3 separate regions of the Homo sapiens genome follow, and all the other regions are linked to region 3. Evidence: promoter capture Hi-C in human tissues and cell types (Jung and others, 2019). All regions are on one chromosome and are shown on one strand. The core of a region is centred on a gene start or on the middle of the fragment in contact, and the rest is flanking DNA. Distances in the headings are between cores, read along the strand shown. Region 1 has its middle 65 kb from the start of LINC01621. Region 2 has its middle 56 kb from the start of HTR1B. Region 3 holds the start of IRAK1BP1 (interleukin 1 receptor associated kinase 1 binding protein 1).

Region 1 (2,700 bases), core at 126-2,625, 1.0 Mb before region 3:
TGCAAGGCAAAGTTCTCTTTACTCTTCGCTCTCCTCACCTTAAGCAGAAGGAAGGAGACACATTTGTTGCTGTGAGCTGTTTTGCCTCAGGTTGAGGGAGGACTGGCGCAAGCATTCCCTTAGCTACTCCAGCTGGTGTCTCTCTAGGTCACATGCCACCCCAGTCCTCTGGCTCTAAGCCCAGCCCAGCACTAGGAGTTGCCTAGGAATTGCAGTCCCTGTGTCCTAGACTGTCTTTCAAGTTTACCTAGAGCCCCAGAACCCTCTGGCCTGCTGTGGTGAGGCTTGCCAAGAAATTTGAGTTCTGACTTATGGAATGTGTGATTCCCCTCTGACTAGGTCTGCTCCAAATGCACCTTCCATGTGCAGTCAGTGGCTGAACCTAGCATGGCTTTGCTTTCTGCTATGACAGGTCAGCACTGAGTTCAGGGTAAAGTACGCCAGTCACTGCACTCTCTCTCTCTCCGAAGTGCATAGACTCTGTGCTACACGGCCACTGCCAGGGCTGGAGGAGGAATGATGTCGGCAACTCAAGGCTGTCTCTTCAACCCTTTTCAATGCCTCTGTCAACAACATGAAGTTAAAACCAGGTACTGTGATTGCTCACCTGATTTTTGGTTCTTGTGATGGTGCTTTTCTGTGTGTAGACAGTTGTGAAAATTTGGCATACCTGCAGGGGGTACATATGTTGCAGGTTTCTATTCTACCATCTTACTCTGCCTCCCAGCCCCGTCTCTTAATACCATCACAATGACAACTAAATTTCAACATGAGATGTGGAGGGAGCATTCAAACCATGTCAGATGGCAATAGAGAGAAAATATCTTGCTAACATTGTCTTGGATCAAACTGTGACTGAAGTCAACTGCACTCTGGCCATACCAGTTATGTAATACAATGATTCCCTTTCCTAACTTCAAACTTTTCTGTCACTTGCCACCAAAAGTTAGCTAAATAATAAATTGATTTTATACATGTGAGCATGAGAATGTTCAAGTATCATGCAAAAAGCATAAAGGTCTTAGGGGAAACTGTGTCCTTATTCATTATCTTTTACTAAGATTTAACACTGGGCTGAGAACCAGGGTCATTCATTTATTACCAAGGGCCATTCTAATAGAAACAATTGGTGACCTGGCATTCCCACGAGTTTGAAATAGCATAGTCCAAATATGTTAGTGTATACATGTGTGCACATGCATGTGTATATGTGTGTACCTCAATTTTGAAACAGTCCTGGAAAGTCTATTACAGTGGAAAGGTAAGGGGATGTCTAAGTTTGAAATGAGGGGTAGAAGCATATTTAACAATTTGCCTTGCGCCTAGTATGACTGGAATATAAACTCTAAAAAGGATTTCTTTTAATTATGCTGAAATTGCTTACTGTCAAGCAACAAGTTCCCCCCCGGAGATAAATCTTAAAGCCTTAAGCTACTCTCACTCTTAAAACAGGTTTATAATTTATTCCTTTCATTCTTAGGCCTCCTTACCTCCCCTTTACCAGCTACCAACAAGTTGCTTCCTTTCGGATGCCTTTTCCTAGGGTCCTTTGGAATTCCTCAAGTTTTTTTCCAGCCTGCTGTTTCCAACGCAAACACACAAACTCTTTTCTTCCTGCAGGAGTTTTTTGTAGTAGGTTTTCTTATAGACTATAAGAAAGTAGGTGAAAAAGCACAGAAAACATTGGGTTGGTTCCTGCAAAACCATGGGAACTCTCAACAAGCATAAACAGCATCAGTTTCTCCACTTCACTGGCATGTGGGCAGAATTGGCTGGCTGTGTCCTAGCTTCTTCCTTATCTTCTTTTCTGGATGGTCCCTTTACCCTCATTTCACAACTCTTCCATGTCTAAGGCGGGGATGTGATATCATTTTCCCTCCTTCCTCAATGAGCACCAGGTCTTTCCAGATGATTGTGTGCTCTGCTTTGGACCCCGAGATCTGCATGGTGCCTCAGAGCTTACTCTCAAAAGGGGCCCATCCTGGAGGTGTCTGATGTCTAAGTGCTCTTTGCTATCCAAAGGAAAAGAAGCCCAGTTACTCCCTGACATATATAGGAAAACCATTGCCTTTCTTTCCAGGTAGCAAAAATACTGTTATGCTCCTTTGGAGATGGGGATTTTTAACCTCCATTTGTCTCTGCTTCTAAATTTCCAAAATAATAGTACTGACATTAGATCATTTTTGTGAGGATTAAATGAGTTAATTTAGATAGCATGCCTATCCTGTGTGCTCTCTCTAGGCTAGCTCCTCTGTTATTTTAGTGTCTTCTTTTCTTCCAGGGAAGTATGAATTAAAAAGCATTGTTTCAGATTTCCTTTTCTGGCTATGAGTTTCTAAAACAAAGATTTTTTTTCTTCTTTTTTCTTCTCTCCTCTGTATTCTTTCCTCTTGACCTGACTCTGTATCCTTTCCCCTTGACCTGACTCTAGATTGTGCTGGCAATAGAGTTGTCCACACCCAAAAGGCTCTCCTCCTCACCTATTAATAAGGCTTCCATTGTGCACCATAAGAATGTTTTTATTAGTATAAGTAGTATCCTCAAAGGTATTTAACTATCAAAGCTATCAAAACTGCAAATGAATCATTTATTTGTGTGACCAATATGTGCAGAAATGCTTGCAGAGAAAAGACTAATCTACAAGGAAATTTAAATGACACCACCACTCCTTTTACTGGGGAAAAGACATTTTGGTTTCTG
Region 2 (2,700 bases), core at 9-2,508, 1.3 Mb after region 3:
GCTTTTTTCAAGAGCTCTTCTAAGGCAGGCCTGGTGGTGACCAAATCCTCAGCATTTGTTTGTCTGTAAAGGATTTTATTTCTCCTTCATTTATGAAGTTTAGTTTGGCTGGATATGGAATTCTGGGTTGAAAACTCTTTGCTTTAAGAATGTTGAATATTGATCCCCACTCTCTTCTGGCTTGTAGGGTTTCTGCAGAGAGATCCACTGTTAGTCTGGTGGGCTTCCCTTTGGGGGTAACCTGACCCTTCTCTCTGGTTGACTTTAACATTTTTTCCTTCATTTCAACCTTGGTGAATCTGACGATTATGTGTCTTAGAGTTGCTCTTCTCGAGGAGTATCTTTGTGGTGTTCTCTGTATTTCCTGAATTTGAATGTTGGCCTGTCTTGCTAGGTTAGGGAAGCTCTCCTGGATAATATCCTGAAGTGTGTTTTCCAACTTGGTTCCATTCTCCCCATCAATTTGAGGTACATCAATCAAACATAGGTTTGGTCTTTTTACATAGTCTCATATTTCTTGGAGGCTTTGTTTGTTTCCTTTCATTCTTTTTTCTCTAATCTTGTCTTCACACTTTATTTCATTAAGTTGATCTTCCGTCTCTGATAGCTCTTCTTCTGCTTGATTGATTTGGCTATTGATACTTGTGTATGCTTCATGAAGTTCTTGTGCTGAGTTTTTCAGCTCCATCAGGTCATTTATATTCTTCTCTAAACTGGTTAATCTAGTTAGCAATTCCTCTAACCTTTAATCAAGTTTCTTAGCTTCCTTGCATTGGATTAGAGCATGCTCTTTTGCTCGGAGGAGTCTGTTATTACCCACTTTCTGAAGCCTACTTCTGTTAATTCATCAAACTCATTCTCCATCCAGTTTTCTTCCCTTGCCAGTAAGGATTTATAATCCTTTGGAGGAGAAGAGGTGTTATGGTTTCTGGAATTTTCAGCCTTTTTGTGCTGGTTTTTCCTCATCTTCATGGATTTATCTACCTTTGGTCTTTGCTGTTGGTGACCTTTCGATGGAGTTTTTGCATGGTCTCCTTTTTGTTGATGTCGATGCTACTGCTGTAGCAAAGGCTGCAGAACAGCAAAGACTGCTGCTTGCTCCTTCCTCTGGAAGCTTTGTCCCAGAGGGGCACCTGCCAGATGCCAGCCAGAGCTTTCCTGTATAAGGTGATTGTTGACCCCTGTTGGGAGGTGTTTTCCTGTCAGGATGTACGGGGATCAGGGACCAACTTGAGGAGGCAGTCTGTCCCTTAGCTGAGCTCGAGTACTGTGCTGGGAGATCTGCTGCTCTCTTCAGAGATGGCAGGCAGGAACGTTTAAGTCTGCTGAAGCTGCACCCACAGCTGCCCCTTCCCCCAGGTGCTCTTTTTTCATCCCCAGGGAGATGAAAGTTTTGTCTATAAGCTGCTGACTGGGGCTGCTGCCTTTCTTTCAGAGATGTCCTGCGCGGAAAGGAGGAATCTAGAGAGCCAGTCCGGCTACCATGACTTTGTGGTGTGGTGGTGGGCTCTGCTCAGTCAAAACTTCCAAGTGGCTTTGTTTACACTGTGAGGGGAAAACTGCCTACTCAAGCCTCAATAATGGCAGACACCCCCACAACCCCCGACCAAGCTTGAGCATTTCAGGTTAACTTCAGACTGCTGCGCTGGCAGCGAGAATTTCAAGCCAGTGGATGTTAGCTTGCTGGGCTCCATAGGGGTGGGCTCCATGGAACAAGACCACTTGTCTCCTTAGCTTCAGCCCCCTTTCCAGGGGAGTGAATAGTTCTCTCTTGCTGGCATTCCAGGTGCCACTGGGGTATGAGAAAAACTCCTGCAGCTAGCTCGGTGTCTGCCCAAACAGCTGCCCAGGTTTTTGCTTGAAACCCAAGGCCATTGTGATGTAGGCACCCAAGGGAATATCCTGGCCTGTGGGTTGTGAAGACAGTGGGAAAAGCATAGTATCTGGGCCAGATAGCACTGTCTCTTTCAGCACAGTCCCTCACTGCTTCCCTTGGCTATGAGAAGGAGTTCCCTGACCCCTTGTGCTTCCCGGGTGAGGAGACACACCACCCTGCTTCTGCTCACCCTCTGTGGTCTGTACCCACTGTCTAACCAGTCCCAGTGAGAAGAACCAGTTACCTCAGTTGGAAATGCAGAAATCACCCACCTTCTGCATTGGTCTCGCTGGGAGCTGCAGACTGGAGCTGTTCCTATTCGGCCATCTTGCCAGGGAATCCATGTCATGTTATTGAAATAAATTGTTCTCTGTTTATCCCTCTAGACCAAGGGCCTTGAGGGTTTTGTATGAAGTACATAGAACAGTTCTTGGGACATAAACACCTAAGAAATATTTGTACAAGCTTATTGGAATAAACTGAGGATGGATGATGCTATTAACAGAGAAAAGCAGGATGCGTTGGTGGGGAAGGTGAGAGTAGGGGGCAAATAATCAGTTCATTGGATTGGGACATGGTAATTCTAAGTCTCAGGGGACATTCTGAGAGAAGGATTGCATAGGCAGTTGTTGATAGGAGACTAGTGCTTGAAACAAGGTCAATGTCATTGGTTTAAAGGTCATCAGCCAGTAATACCATGGAAGTAGATAAAATCATTTATAGAAAGGGCAGGATGTGAACTGAATGCCTCTTTTGGGGAGCTTGCATGAGATCCCAAGCCTGATGGTGAAAACAGCTTCTGGAGTGTGCAGTTATCACTTCAA
Region 3 (2,700 bases), core at 13-2,512:
CCCTATGATTTCTAATTTTCTTTCATTCTAATTATCGGCAGAATTGGAAGCAACTTACATTCTGGTTTCAGGAATACATGAGTTCAAATATTGCTCTACCTAAAGTTCAGAGCATTGTTTAACCTCTTTAAATTTGGAAAACAGGGATATTAAAACATGCCTAACAGTGCTATTGTGTGGATTAAATGATGGCTTCATTTTTTTTCTTGCCTTAGGAGTAGGCTTAAGGTAAGATTTGTTTAGTGATTTGTCTCATGGACATCTCCGTTAAGTAAGTAGAAGTATTTCGTATATGTGGTATCCACAATACTGGCTTGATTTTTTCTTTTAAGTTAAACCTAAGAAGGCCGAAGAAATTTTGGGGGAATCACTATAAAATGAAAATCATTATAAAATGAAAATGGACGCAACTTCTTCCCCACTTCCCAACGTTACTGTTTGCGGAACATACTCAAGAACCATTCCATGCAAAGTTTTACATGATCGGAAGGAAGCAGGTCGTGCTCTTCACTTGCCAATTCCATGGTGCGGAATAAAAACAAAACAAAACAAAATATTTAGTGTCCAGCACTCCACGTGGGCAAGTATTTACAACTAACATTTCAAGTTTTAACATTTCATCACTTTAAATTTAAAAACAAAATCACTGAAGCAAATATCCCCAGATAAAAACCTACCCAATTTGCATTCTTTTATTTTTAATTTGCCTGAGGCCAATAATTACCTTCGTCTAGGAGAAGAATGGGTCAAATATTCACTCTGCCAGGTCCTGGCGTCCCGGAGTACCTTTGCAACAAACGCGTCCTAAACGCTCCAGACCCTCCACATCTCCCTTCCCGCTAGGGGGGCCTGTGGGGCCCGACCATCTGCCAACCCTTTTGTGTCTTCCGGCTCTTATTTCCTCCCCCGCGGAGATCTCACCTGCACGCCCTGCTGCTGGAGGCTCTGCGTGATGTAATCTAGACGGCGACAAACGCTCTTTTTGGCCTCGGCTGCCGCCTCCTTGGTGCTGCTCACTCGCACCACCACCTGCGCCCGGTCAGGGCCCGCAGACACTTCTGAGGTGCCGCTTACTTGCACCTCGCGGGTAGCAGTTTGGGCTTGTGTTGAGGAGAGGGGGTGGCGTAAGCCCGGTAGCGTCTCTCTCCCTGAGGCCAGGTTGTTCTCCCGGCTCCGGTCAGCCCAGGGAACCAGTTCCACGAACACTCGGGTCGGAGGGGTCTTTTGCAGAGACATAGCGATGGCAGCTGGGTTTCCATAGTAACTACCGGCCGACGGCGGCCGAAGGGGCCAATGCGCACCAGGGCTTGCCTGTGCACGGCGCAAAGTATGCCGGGATGGGTGTGGAGGCCGCGGAACTTCTGGCGGGCGCAAGCTATATGCCTTGTTGATCTTGCCGCATCTTTTTTACTAGATGTCGGCTGAGTGAGTAGCTACAGTTTTTAACATGTTTAACTTACGGCCTTCAAAAATTGTTAGCGGACTTTCTCTGTTGCCTCCTCAGTGAGCTCTGCCCTTTCTCGCAACTCCTTGTCGTCCCACCGCGCCTCTGCACCTCAGAGGAAGGAGAAGAGTAGCGAGGCCGAGCGGGTTTTTAGATTTCTCTGTGATTACCCCCAGCCTTGTCTTTTCTGACTTTACCGTCCCCGCTTGGGGTACTGCTTTTTGAGGCTCCCTCGGCCACATTTTTGTGGTTCGTGAGAGGTTTCAGTTGAGGTGAACTTTTTGCCCCTGTGATCTTGGACAGTTTATGATTCTTCATATCTCAGTATCATCTTCTCTAAAGCAGGGTTGATAATATTTTTTATATTAGTAATATATAATATATTCTAATATATATAATATATTCTAATATATAATATATTCTAATATATATAATATATTAATATTATCAAAGCAATGTTGATAATATTTTTCACATTTGCTATGTGCTTATAAGGCGCCCATTGTATGTAGAGTGCGTTGCATATGGAAAGCAGAGTGAACATAATGGATGTTTGTAATGATAGCTATGGCTTTGGCATCATTTTTGTGTCTCCCCATTTTTTTCTAAAATCCCTGGAATGGTTCGGGCCTTGAATTCCGACAGAAGAGATTTAGGTGGTAGCAAAGCACGTCCAACATGGAGTTTGCTGGGCCTGCACAACTTGGAGCTTCTCTGTACCCTTTTCTTCAGAGAACTTTTAGAACACAACCCTCAACTTCCCGTCTTCTGGATTCTCTTCCTAGCACTAAGCAATGATCTTTGTAAAAATAGCCCCACTGACTTATACGTCTTTACTATCTGAATTTTATCAAGAGAATCGAGGGGGGAAAAAAGAATTTTGAATAACTAGTTCTAGAAGGACAAGAACTGTTCTTTTAAAAGGACCCTGAAAAGCTGACAGTCCTCTTGTAGTTTCTTCACCATCGTTTTTTCTGTTCTTTTCGATTAGTATAATTCAACTAAATCAATGGTACCCCCCTCCTTTAATTAGGCTCATCACTAGATTAACATAATTTTGTGTATATCCATCTTGTTTATTGTTAGCTGAAAACAATTTTAATTTAAAAACTAACGTTAAGAACTTTCCGTCATAGTCTTTTATTATTTAAGACACCCAAAATAATGTTTCTTAAACTTGGTGAAAAATTCTTTTTCCCTTACGATAAATGCGGAAGAATATAGCCTCCAAAATAAATTATTGAATGAGTGAATGT

Evidence for each region. Contacts are between HindIII fragments. The study calls those that stand out against the background at their distance.
Region 1: a fragment that was not itself captured here is called in contact with the fragment with the promoter of IRAK1BP1 in region 3 in 1 of the 25 tissues and cell types used here (dorsolateral prefrontal cortex).
Region 2: a contact is called between a fragment that was not itself captured here and the fragment with the promoter of IRAK1BP1 in region 3, in 1 of the 25 tissues and cell types used here (dorsolateral prefrontal cortex).

The regions. Positions count from the first base shown.
Region 1 is chr6:79,876,054-79,878,753 of GRCh38, reverse strand. No RefSeq gene overlaps it. Among named protein-coding and RNA genes, the nearest start is that of LINC01621, 65 kb to the right of the region's middle. The HindIII fragment of the contact is 7,172 bases long and covers 1-2,700 here.
Region 2 is chr6:77,517,727-77,520,426 of GRCh38, reverse strand. No RefSeq gene overlaps it. Among named protein-coding and RNA genes, the nearest start is that of HTR1B, 56 kb to the right of the region's middle. The HindIII fragment of the contact is 3,192 bases long and covers 1-2,700 here.
Region 3 is chr6:78,866,113-78,868,812 of GRCh38, reverse strand. It overlaps IRAK1BP1 (interleukin 1 receptor associated kinase 1 binding protein 1), which reads right to left and starts at 1,262. Exons shown (of 4, transcript NM_001010844.4): 1 at 922-1,262. The coding sequence starts at 1,236. It overlaps LOC107986613 (a long non-coding RNA gene), which reads left to right and starts at 1,323. Exons shown (of 2, transcript XR_001744210.2): 1 at 1,323-1,425. RefSeq lists enhancers at 475-1,075, 908-1,227, 1,258-1,367. The HindIII fragment of the contact is 12,955 bases long and covers 1-2,700 here.